Linked DNA regions of Homo sapiens: region 2 is linked to region 1. The links are contacts of gene promoters, found by promoter capture Hi-C in human tissues and cell types (Jung and others, 2019). All regions are on one chromosome and are shown on one strand. Each heading gives the region's core, a stretch centred on a gene start or on the middle of the fragment in contact. The rest is flanking DNA. Distances are from core to core; before and after follow the strand shown.

The links. Contacts are between HindIII fragments. The study calls those that stand out against the background at their distance.
Region 2: a fragment that was not itself captured here is called in contact with the fragment with the promoter of TJP3 in region 1 in 1 of the 25 tissues and cell types used here (dorsolateral prefrontal cortex).

Annotation. Positions count from the first base shown.
Region 1 is chr19:3,705,591-3,710,661 of GRCh38, forward strand. It overlaps TJP3 (tight junction protein 3), which reads left to right and starts at 2,794. Exons shown (of 21, transcript NM_001267560.2): 1 at 2,794-2,971. RefSeq lists enhancers at 2,239-2,902, 2,903-3,564, 4,400-4,945. The HindIII fragment of the contact is 5,666 bases long and covers 1-3,781 here.
Region 2 is chr19:3,978,533-3,983,385 of GRCh38, forward strand. EEF2 (eukaryotic translation elongation factor 2) reads right to left here. Exons shown (of 15, transcript NM_001961.4): 3 at 4,578-4,759; 4 at 4,275-4,486; 5 at 3,714-3,892; 6 at 3,415-3,520; 7 at 2,807-2,920; 8 at 2,309-2,447; 9 at 1,982-2,177; 10 at 1,276-1,534; 11 at 797-904. SNORD37 (small nucleolar RNA, C/D box 37) reads right to left here and starts at 4,040; the gene lies at 3,975-4,040. RefSeq lists an enhancer at 2,941-3,792. The HindIII fragment of the contact is 5,039 bases long and covers 1-4,202 here.

The sequences.
Region 1 (5,071 bases), core at 1,544-4,043:
GTGCTGGAGGTTAGATCATTGATGAGGATAATGAAGAGGAAATATACTTAAAAAAAATTACTAAAACTGGCTGAACAGTCATGACTTACAGACGCAAAAGTCAACATCAAAACAAGCAGTTAAAAGCAGCCTCTTGGCCGGGCGCGGTGGGTCACGCCTGTAATCCCAGCACTTTGGGAGGCAGAGGTGGGTGGATCACCTGAGGTCAGGAGTTTGAGACCAGCCTGGCCAACATGATGAAACCCCACCTCTACTGAAAATACCAAAAAAGTAGCCAGGCGTAGTGGCACATGCCTGTAATTCCAGCTACTCGGGAGGCTGAGGCAGGAGAATCGCTTGAACCCGGGAGGCAGAGGTTGCAGTGAGCCGAGATGGCGCCACTGCACTCCAGCCCGGGAGACAGAGTGAGACTCCGTCTCAAAACACAAAAACAAACAAACAAACAAAAAACTTAAAAAAAAGAAAACTAGGGCAGGGATGGGGTGACAGGAGGGGAGAGGCAAGGGACAGAGAGGAGGGGCTGGGGTCCGGGAGAGCCACCAGCCTTCTGTGCCTTCCCCGCATCCCCCCACGCCCCTGGTTGGCTGTCCCCATTACGCAGGGTGGAAAACCGAGGCTGCCCGGCGGGGGCCGGTTGCGTGGTTTCTGGCGCCGCCTGGTGGCCATAGTGGCTACTACCGTCAGCAGGAGGTACTGCAGGCTGGAGGGACCCTAGTCCATTCATTCCAAAAACATGTATTGAGCACCTACTGTGTACCAGGCACTGTGCTAGGCCATAGGACACGGCAGGGATGAGCACGACAAAGTCCATGACCTCTGTGAGGTGGCATTTTAATATTTATTTATTTATTTTTCAGCCAGCGTCTTGCTCTGTCTCCCAAGCTGGAGTGCAGTGGCGCGATCTCGGCTCACTGCAACCTCTGCCTCTGGGGCTCAAGCGATTCTCCCGTCTCAGCCTCCTGAGTAGCTGGGATTACAGACGCATGCCACCTTGCCCGGCTAATTTTTGTATTTTTAGTAGAGATGGGGTTTCACCATGTTGGCCAGGCTGGTCTCGAACTCCTAACTCAAGCAATTCTCCCACCTCAACCTCCCAAAGTGCTGGGATTACAGGGGTGAGCCATTGAGCCCAGACTTAATTTTTTAAATTTTAATTTTAATGTACTGGTAAAGATGGGGGGGTGTCTCACTATGTTGCCCAGACTGGTCTCGAATTCCTGGCCTCAAGTGATCCTGCCACCTTGGCCTCCAAAGTACTGAGATTATAGGTGTGAGCCATCATGCCCAACCCTTCCTGGTTAATTTTATTTTATTGAGATAGGATCTTGCTCTGTCACCCAGGTTGGAGTGCAGTGGCACAGTCATAGCTCTCTGCAGCCTCAACCTCCCAGGGTCAATTGATCCTCCCACCTCAGCCTCCTGAGTTTCTGGGACTACAGGTGTGTACCACCACATCTGGCTAATTTTTAAAAAAGTTTTCTGGGCTGGGCGTGGTGGCTCACGCCTGTAATCTCAGCACTTTGAGAGGCCAAGGCAGGCGGATCACCTGAGGCCAGGAGTTCAAGACCAGCTTGGCCAATATGGTGAAACTCCGTCTCTACAAAAATACAAAAATTAGCTGGGCATGATGGCTGGTGCCTGTAATGCAATCCCAGCTACTCGGGAGGCTGAGGCAGGAGAATCACTTGAAACCGGGAGGCAAAGGTTGCAGTGGGCCGAGATCAAGCCATTGCACTCCAGCCTGGGCAACATAGCAAGACTCTGTCTCAAAAAAATAAAAAAAAAATAAAATAAAAACAAAAAACAAAACAAAACCAACAACAGCCAGCAGCAACAACAAAAAAACTTTTCTAGGCCAGGCTCGGTGGCTCACGCCTGTAATCCCAACACTTTGGGAGGCCGAGGCGGGCAGATCACTTGAGGTCAGGAGTTTGAGACCAGCCTGGCCAACATAGGAAAACCCCGTCTCTACTGAAAAAAAAAAAAAAAATTAGCTGGGCGTGGTGGTGCACGCCTGTAATCCCAGCTACTTGGGAGGCTGAGGCAGAAGAATCACTTGAACCCAGGAGGCGGAGGTTGCAGTGAGCCGAGATCGCGCCACTGCACTCCAGCCTGGGTGACAGAGGGAGACTCCATCTCAAAACAAACAACAAACAAAAGATATATAAAAATTTTTCTAGAGATGGGTTTCACCGTGTTACCCAGGCTGGTCTCAAATTCCCAGGCTCAAGTGATCCTCCCACCTCGGCCTCCCAAAGTGCTGGAATTACAGGTGTGAGCCACCACACCTGACCCTTTCTTGTTTTTTAGATGAGGACAGCAAGAAGCCCCTGTAATTTGCCCAAAGCCACACAGCGGGGAAGTGGCAGAAGCTTCTGTACGTAGGAACCCAGTCACTTCGTAGCAGAGAGGCAGACTGCGCACAGATCTGCGTGGGGAAGGGAGTGCGCCAAGCCACAGCCTGATGGGCCGGCGTGCCTGGCAGGAGGCTCAGCAAGCACAGAGACTGGGCAGCTCCAGATGCAAGAAGCAGGAGGGAGGGGGACTCCGGGAGTGCGGTCCATTCATGTCTGAATGTAGCCAACGAGGGTTTCCTAAGCACCTACCATGTGCGGACGCTTGATACCAGGGCCTCGGCGGTGAGGGCACAGGCAGGAGCAAGCTCACCTCTGGGCAAGCAGGGGTTAAGGCCAGTTGCTCCCACGTGAGGGCACCTTGCGACAGAGCCACACACCCAGTCCTCCTGCTGGCCCGCCCCTCACCCTGGTCCGTCTCCCTGTGTCTGTGGTCGTCAGTTCCACTGGCAGGGGACCTGCCTCCCTGTTGCCACCACAAGAGAGGAAAAGTTGGTCAAACAGGTGGGGAGGCCAGAGCTACAAGCCTCGGGTTCCCTCCCCACCACCCGTGCCAGGCAGGCACCCGGGCCCTGGCACCTGCTGCCTGCCCAGAGGCCACCCAGCCTCCTAGACAGGTAAGTCCCCCGCCCCACTGTGCTTTTCCACCCAGTGTGCATTGTCTGAGCTGGCCTTCCCCAGCTGAGGGTCCTTAGACTCCCCCCCAACCTCCCCCACCACGAGCTGTCTCCCCGGCTCCTCGGAAAGCAGGAAACTGACACTCCTGCGTGGGCATCTGACATAGTTTCGTAGGGATTATCTGACCGGCAGTTACTGCACCTGGCGGCCTGCCCAGGACGCTGAGCTGGAAACTTAAAAGGGTCATTGTTACCTAGGTGGCGCAGGGACCGGGGAGGCGGCAAAGGGGCACAGGTTGGTCTCTGATCCCCCTAACTGAGGAGGGGAGGGGATATCAGTCCAGACGGAGCCTGGGTTTACCTCCTGCAGCCCGAGGCTAGGAGGTGACAGGTGGGAAAGGCTGCGACCTCACTCATCTCTGAGCCTCCTGGAACTTCTTAAAAGGCTCCCAAGTTTTGAAACAACTGCGTCTCCCGCCCCCCAACCCCTCACCCTGTTCTCACCGCTGGAACCTCCAGGAGCTTTGCAGGGAGGGATTGGGGTGGCCTTTCTTTTGCTAATTTTTTTTTTGAGACGGAGTTTTGCTCTTGTTGCCCAGGCTGGAGTGCAGTGGTGCGATCTTGGCTCACTGCAACCTCTGCCTCCACCTCTGCCTCCCGAGTAGCTGGGATTACAAGCGCCCACCACTATGCCCAGCTAATTTTTGTATTTTTAGTAGAGATGGGGTTTCACCATGTTGGCCAGGCTGGTCTCGAACTCCTGACCTCAGGTGATCCAACCCCCTCGGCCTCCCAAAGTGCTGGGATTACAGGCGCAAGCCACTGCGCCCAGACTTCTTTTTCTAATCTTTACTCCTCCGAGCAAAATCTCTGTGGGATGGGGCAGAGGGGAAGGAGGAAGGAGCGCTCAGAGCCAGAGAGGGGAGGGGTCGGCAGCAAAAGTGTTTTTCTGGGTCATTTGCTCCCAAATGGGAAGACCAAGGGAGCTTCCTCGTGAGCCAAGTGTCCGATTGCATCTCAAGTCTCTCTCCAGAACCAAGAGGGTCCCCCGGGGCCGAGGAGGCATGGATGATCGCATAGTGGGGGACAGAGCGGCCCGGCATTTGGGGTCACCTTGTGGCTGTGTGGCTGCAGAGCTCCCAGGGAGCAGGCTTGCTTGAGATTCGGGAGTCCGTGGGGGTGGGCGACATGGATCCCACCTTGCCTGGGTTTTGAGAGCAAACCCGTGGACTCAGTTAGATCTGGCTTCCACACCTCCCTTCTCTCCGGGCCTCTGTTTCCTGCTCTGTAAAATGGGGATATTGAGGGCCGGGCGCGGTGGCTCACGCCTGTAATCCCAGCACTTTGGGAGGTCGAGGCGAGTGGATCACAAGGTCAGGAGTTCGAGACCAGCCTGGCCAACATGGTGGAACCCTGTCTCTACTAAAAATACAAAAAATGAGCCGAATATGGTGGCAAGCACTTGTAATCCCAGCTACTCCGGAGGCTGAGGCAGGAGAATTGCTTGAACCCAGGAGGTGGAGGTTGCAGTGAGCCGAGATTGTGCCACTGCACTCCAGCCTGGACAACAGAGTGAGACTCTGTCTCAAAAAAAAAAAAAAAAAAAGGGGTGGGGGGATATGGAGTCACCAAGGCACAGGGCTGTTGAGTGCCGGATGTAATAAAGCGGGTAACAGATTCTCGGTCATTCTGGGGTCAAGACGAGCTATCCCGGTCCGAATCGGAGTCTGGTCTCATCAGCTTCCTGGTTTGTAGAGGATGAACCCTGGCTCAGAGAAGGACAGCCGCTTACCCCGGGCCGCACAGCCAAGTAGAAATGTCAGGCGGCCAAGAGTCAAGACGCAGAGGACAGGGAGCTGGTGGCGGGGGTGGTGCTCTGGAGGCTGGCCCTGCCCCCAGCTGATGCCTCAGGCTCAGCATCTCGAGAAAGTCCTGCCCCCTGGCTTGGTGCTTCCTCGTGGCCCTGAGTCCCGGGGAAAGTCCAGGGCAGGGAGTATGGGTACTTGTTCTTCCTCTTTAGGGCTGGCCAGGGGCCAGGGGAGCTGTGTTTGCTCAGGGTGGAACCTGACACCCTTTGGAATGGATTGAGGTTAGCGGAAG
Region 2 (4,853 bases), core at 433-2,932, 270 kb after region 1:
TGGTGGCTCACGCCTGTAATCCCAGCACTTTGGGAGGCCGAGGCGGGTGGATCACGAGGTCAGGAGATCCAGACCATCCTGGCTAACACGGTGAAACCCCGTCTCTACTAAAAATGCAAAAAATTAGCCGGGCATGATGGCAGGCGCCTGAAGTCCCAGCTACAGGAGGCTGAGGCAGGAGAATGGCGTGAACCTGGGAAGCAGAGCTTGCAGTGAGCCAAGATCACGCCATTGCACTCCAGCCTAAGCAACAGAGCAAGACTCTTGTCTCAAAAAAAAAAAAAAAAAAAAAAAAAAAATAGCCCTGGGCCAGGCATGGTGGCTCACACCTGTAATCCCAGCACTTTGGGAGGCCGAGGCAGGGGGATCACGAGGTCAGGAGATCGAGACCATCTTGACTTACTAACACAGTGAAACCCCGCCTCTACTAAAAATACAAAAAAAAATTAGCCGGGCGTGGTAGCACGCGCCTGTAGTCCCAGTTACTCAGGAAGCTGAGTGAGGCAAGAGAATCGCTTGAACCCGGGAGGTGGAGGTTCTAGCGAGCCAAGATCACGCCACTGCACTCCAGCCTGGATGACACAGCGAGACTATCTCAAAAAAAACAACAACAACAACAAAAACAGCCCCACATGCCTGTGGAAGACTGCAAAGAAGAAACTTGAGGAACTTAAGAAGCTGAGACCAAGACCGAGATCAAGTCTAGGCGTCTGCAGAGCCTAGCTCAGCTCAGCTTTAAAGCAGAGGGCAGGTGTCCGGGGTGGGGCGTGGGGAAGGCTGGTCACTGGCGCCTCACCTTGATGGGGATGCAGGCGTGGTCCTCCTCCAGGTCCTTCAGGCAGATCTCCAGGTGCAGCTCGCCGGCGCCCGCGATGATATGCTCTCCCGACTCCTCGATGATGCACTGAAAGGGATGCGGGTCAGCACCAAAGGGGTAGGCGGCTCGGAACAGGCGGGACCAGGCTCCCAGCTTCCCTTTAGCTAGGGACCCCGCCAGAACAAGATTTCAGGGAAGGTGCTGGGAAACTGGGACCAGCACAAACTCCTGAAGAAATGTTAAGTCCCACAAGCTACAGTGAACACGCGCAGAGCAGCCTAGGAGAGGGTGGTGGCTGCCTGGGCAGGAGTCTCCATTTACAGCCACAGCCAAGAACCCCTCCTTTCATGACCAGTCACCCCAATCCACCAACCACAGCAACCCACACAGCCACAACTCAGGACACAAGCCGTCCCCCCTCAGGGTGTCTGCTCCCAGCAGGTGCACTCCGTGCCCACCTGCACCATGGGGTCGGACTTGGCCAGCCGCTTCAGCCCCTCCACCAGCTTGGGCAGGTCAGCCGGGTTCTTGGCCTCCACGGCCACTCTGACAACAGGGCTGACGCTGAACTTCATCACCCGCATGTTGTGCGCGTGCTCGAAGGTGGTGATGGTGCCCGTCTTCACCAGGAACTGGTCCACGCCCACGAGGCCCACAATGTTCCCACAAGGCACATCCTCGATGGGCTCCACGTAGCGGCCCATCATCAAGATTGTTCTGGAAGAAGCAGAAGGCGGCAGCAGGCCGCAGGGATGGTTGTGCTGGACCCTGGAGGGCCAGGGCAGGTCCCTCCCGGAGTTGGTGGCCCTCCTGCCAGGTCCCAGGGCAGACTGGTGGCTTCCACAAGGCCCTGACTGCTGCGTCGGGGCTGTCAGGAAACATCCTCTTCAGAATCACTGCCCTCCTCCCTGGGTATGGGTCGACGGCCGCCACCCACCTGTGCCCAGGGACACAGATGAGCAGGGGTGTGCTGTGCCCTGGGGCTTGGAGCTTCTCCAGAAATGCCCTCACTGGGCTAAGAACAAAAGTTGTGGCTGGCACAAGTATCACCCTATATTCCTTCTATGCTCCTTACTTCTAGCTCCCGACTGAGGAGCCCAAGACTTGGAGCAGGGCAGGGCCCGCAACAGTGCCAAGGGGCCTGCACATCACCCAGCTGCTCACCTCTGGATTGGCTTCAGGTAGAGGTCCTCCTTCTTCCCAGGGGTATAGTTGGGCCCCATGATCCTGACCTTCAGGCCAGTGGAGACCAGCCCCGAGAAGACTCGTCCAAAGGCGTAGAACCGACCTTTGTCGGAGGTTGGCACCATTTTGGAAATATACATCATAAGAGGGCCTTTGGGGTCACAGCTTTTAATGCCTGAGGGACAGAGAAAACCCGCAAGCTTTATTCCAGTGCAGCTCAGCCTTCTGGAACCCTGCAACCCACAACCTTGGGCAACAGGAAGTCATCCGGCTGCATCTCAGGGCCCGGCCACCGGGACCACGTACCCATGGCAGCCTCGTCGTCCGGGGGCCCCTCGTACAGGAGCTCGCAGCGGTACTTCTGGGCCGTCACAGGGGAGGGCAGGTGGATGGTGATCATCTGCAACAAGGCGTCTCCGGCAGGCAGCCAGCGGCGCATCACAGCCTGCGGGGGCAGAGAGCGGTGCATGAGACACCTGGGGAGCCCAGGATGGCCCCACCCCGTACACGCTTCCTCTCTTGAAGCCAAGGAAGCCAAAGTCAGGACTAACGTTCTCCAAAGCACAGTCCCTTCTGGAAGGCGGCAAAGGCCATGCACACTCCTGCCAAGGCCCTCACCCACACCTGTCCCGGATGGGGCTGGCTGCTGGGATGTGTCTCCAGCAGCACCCAGAGTCTAAAGCGAAAGGGGCAGCAGCTGTCCCTGCCCAGCTGAGGACTTCAGCCCCCAGGCCTGGGCTGTCAGAGCATCCGGAAACAGCAGCCTGTGTTCCCTCCACCCCGAGGGCTGGGCCCAGGCCGCACCTTCAGCAGGGGTTTGCCTTCTTTGTCCTTGTCCTCGCTGTCCAGTTTGATGTCCAGTTTCTCTATCAGTTTTGCTGTCTCCTCTTTCTTGAAATTCATGATCGCATCAAACACCTACATTCCCCACCAAGAAACAAGAAAGCCCATTTGGGAACAGCAGGAGGAAGCCTGGCACTGCTTCCTGCTTGGAAGACTCAGGTCAGCGCAGGGGGACGCAGCACGGGAGCAGGAGCAGGCCTGGCCTGCCTACCACGGGCCCAGCCAGCTGAGCGGATCGGGAGCTGGAGGAAACCTCGTGGTGGAGCAGAGGAAAAAGCCCACTCTGACTCAGACAAGGACCCAAGTTCTGACTTACAAGCACTGAACCGCCAAAGCCACAAGTTATTCAACCCCCTCAATGCAGGAGAGGTCCCAAGGCTCTGGCTATGCAGTCCAGATCTTAAGAGAGGAGCCCTGACTCCACCTCAGTTAGGAGCTGTGCCTCCTCCCATCTCGCATCTGCCCCACAAGGAGACGGGCCCAGTCAGCCGACAGGCTACCGGCCGGAGCCCACAGGGCCGAGGGCCAATAGTCGCATCGGCGGGGTGCCTGGCGCAGCCCTCACTCACCTTGAAGATGGGGTCCAGGATCAGCTGGCAGAAGGTGCGTGGCAGCTTCTTCCCTTCGGGGCTGGTGGCTGACTTGCTGAACTTGCCGTTGGCTGGGTCAAAGTACCTGGCAAGGAGAGGCCAAGCCAAATCAAGTTAGGGTCTCCAGGGGATGACTTGGGGAGGGTGGTCGCCAAGGGGACATGCTTGGGCAAGACCTGGTGGGCTTGAGCCACGCTGTGAATAGCACACCACGCCCCTACGTCGCTGCCACTACCCCCAGGTGTCAGGAATCCCCCACCATATCCCGCGGGGCTCACCTGTCACCCCACAGCTTCTTCATCATGTCCTCTACTTTCTTGGCCCGCTCGGCAGGCCCCAACTGGCCCTCCCCCTTGGCGGCGAACTTGGCCACATACATCTCGGCAAACTGCTTCAGGGTGAAGGCCCACCCGTGGAGGCCAGACCCAAAGCCCACGGTACCGAGGACAGGATCGATCTGGAAGTGTGAGAAACGAGAAGCAGCCGTGAGGGCCCCTGCGCAGAGCCTGAAGCTACGGGCTGGGCGCCTTGGGCATGGGCCTCAGACGCAGGCTTTCTTCAGTAGACATCTGGTCAAAGTGAAGAAATGATCAGTCATCACGAATAGGGGGGCCAGCCCCTCCACCACCCAGGGCAGCGTTCCCTGAGCTCGTCTCTTCCAGCTGCCCAAAGATCAAGGGCTGGGTCAAGTCGGATGAAAACATTCCAGCCCCCTTCTCTGTCACCCAACATTCCTGGCAAAAACACACTTCCAGTCCCCCTCAGCTCAACTCCACTCCCCACCGGCTCCTGCAGATCCCGCTGCGGCAAGCCCACCACCCAGCTAGGGAGGGCCGTACCATGATGTTGCCCATGGGGCCGCTCTCGCCCTCGCCGTAGGTGGAGATGATGACGTTCACGTTCTCCACGATGCGCTGGAAAGTCTGGTAGAGCTCCTCGGGCTCCAGCTGCAGCTCCAGCAGGGCGCGGTCCATCTTGTTCATCATCAGCACAGGCTTGATGCGCTCGGCAATGGCCTGCCGCAGCACTGTCTCCGTCTGCACGCACACGCCTGGGGACACGGGGGACAGGGCGGCGCTGTCATCCTCAAGCAAGGATGGCCCCCGGTTCCAGGCCGTGCCTCAGGGGGACCCACTGCTTACCTGACACGCAGTCCACCACCACCAATGCGCCATCGGTGACTCGGAGGGCAGCAGTCACCTCCGAGGAGAAGTCGACATGCCCGGGGGAGTCAATGAGGTTGATGAGGAAGCCGGCACCGTCCTTGCTCTGCTTGATGAAGTTCAAGTCATTCTCCGAGAGCTCGTAGAAGAGGGAGATGGCACTGATGGAGGGAGGGACTCGTCAGGGGGACAGGAGCCACACACCTGGCCCAGGGAGTCTGGGATGCTGTCAGAAGCCAGGCTGCTCCTCCCTCC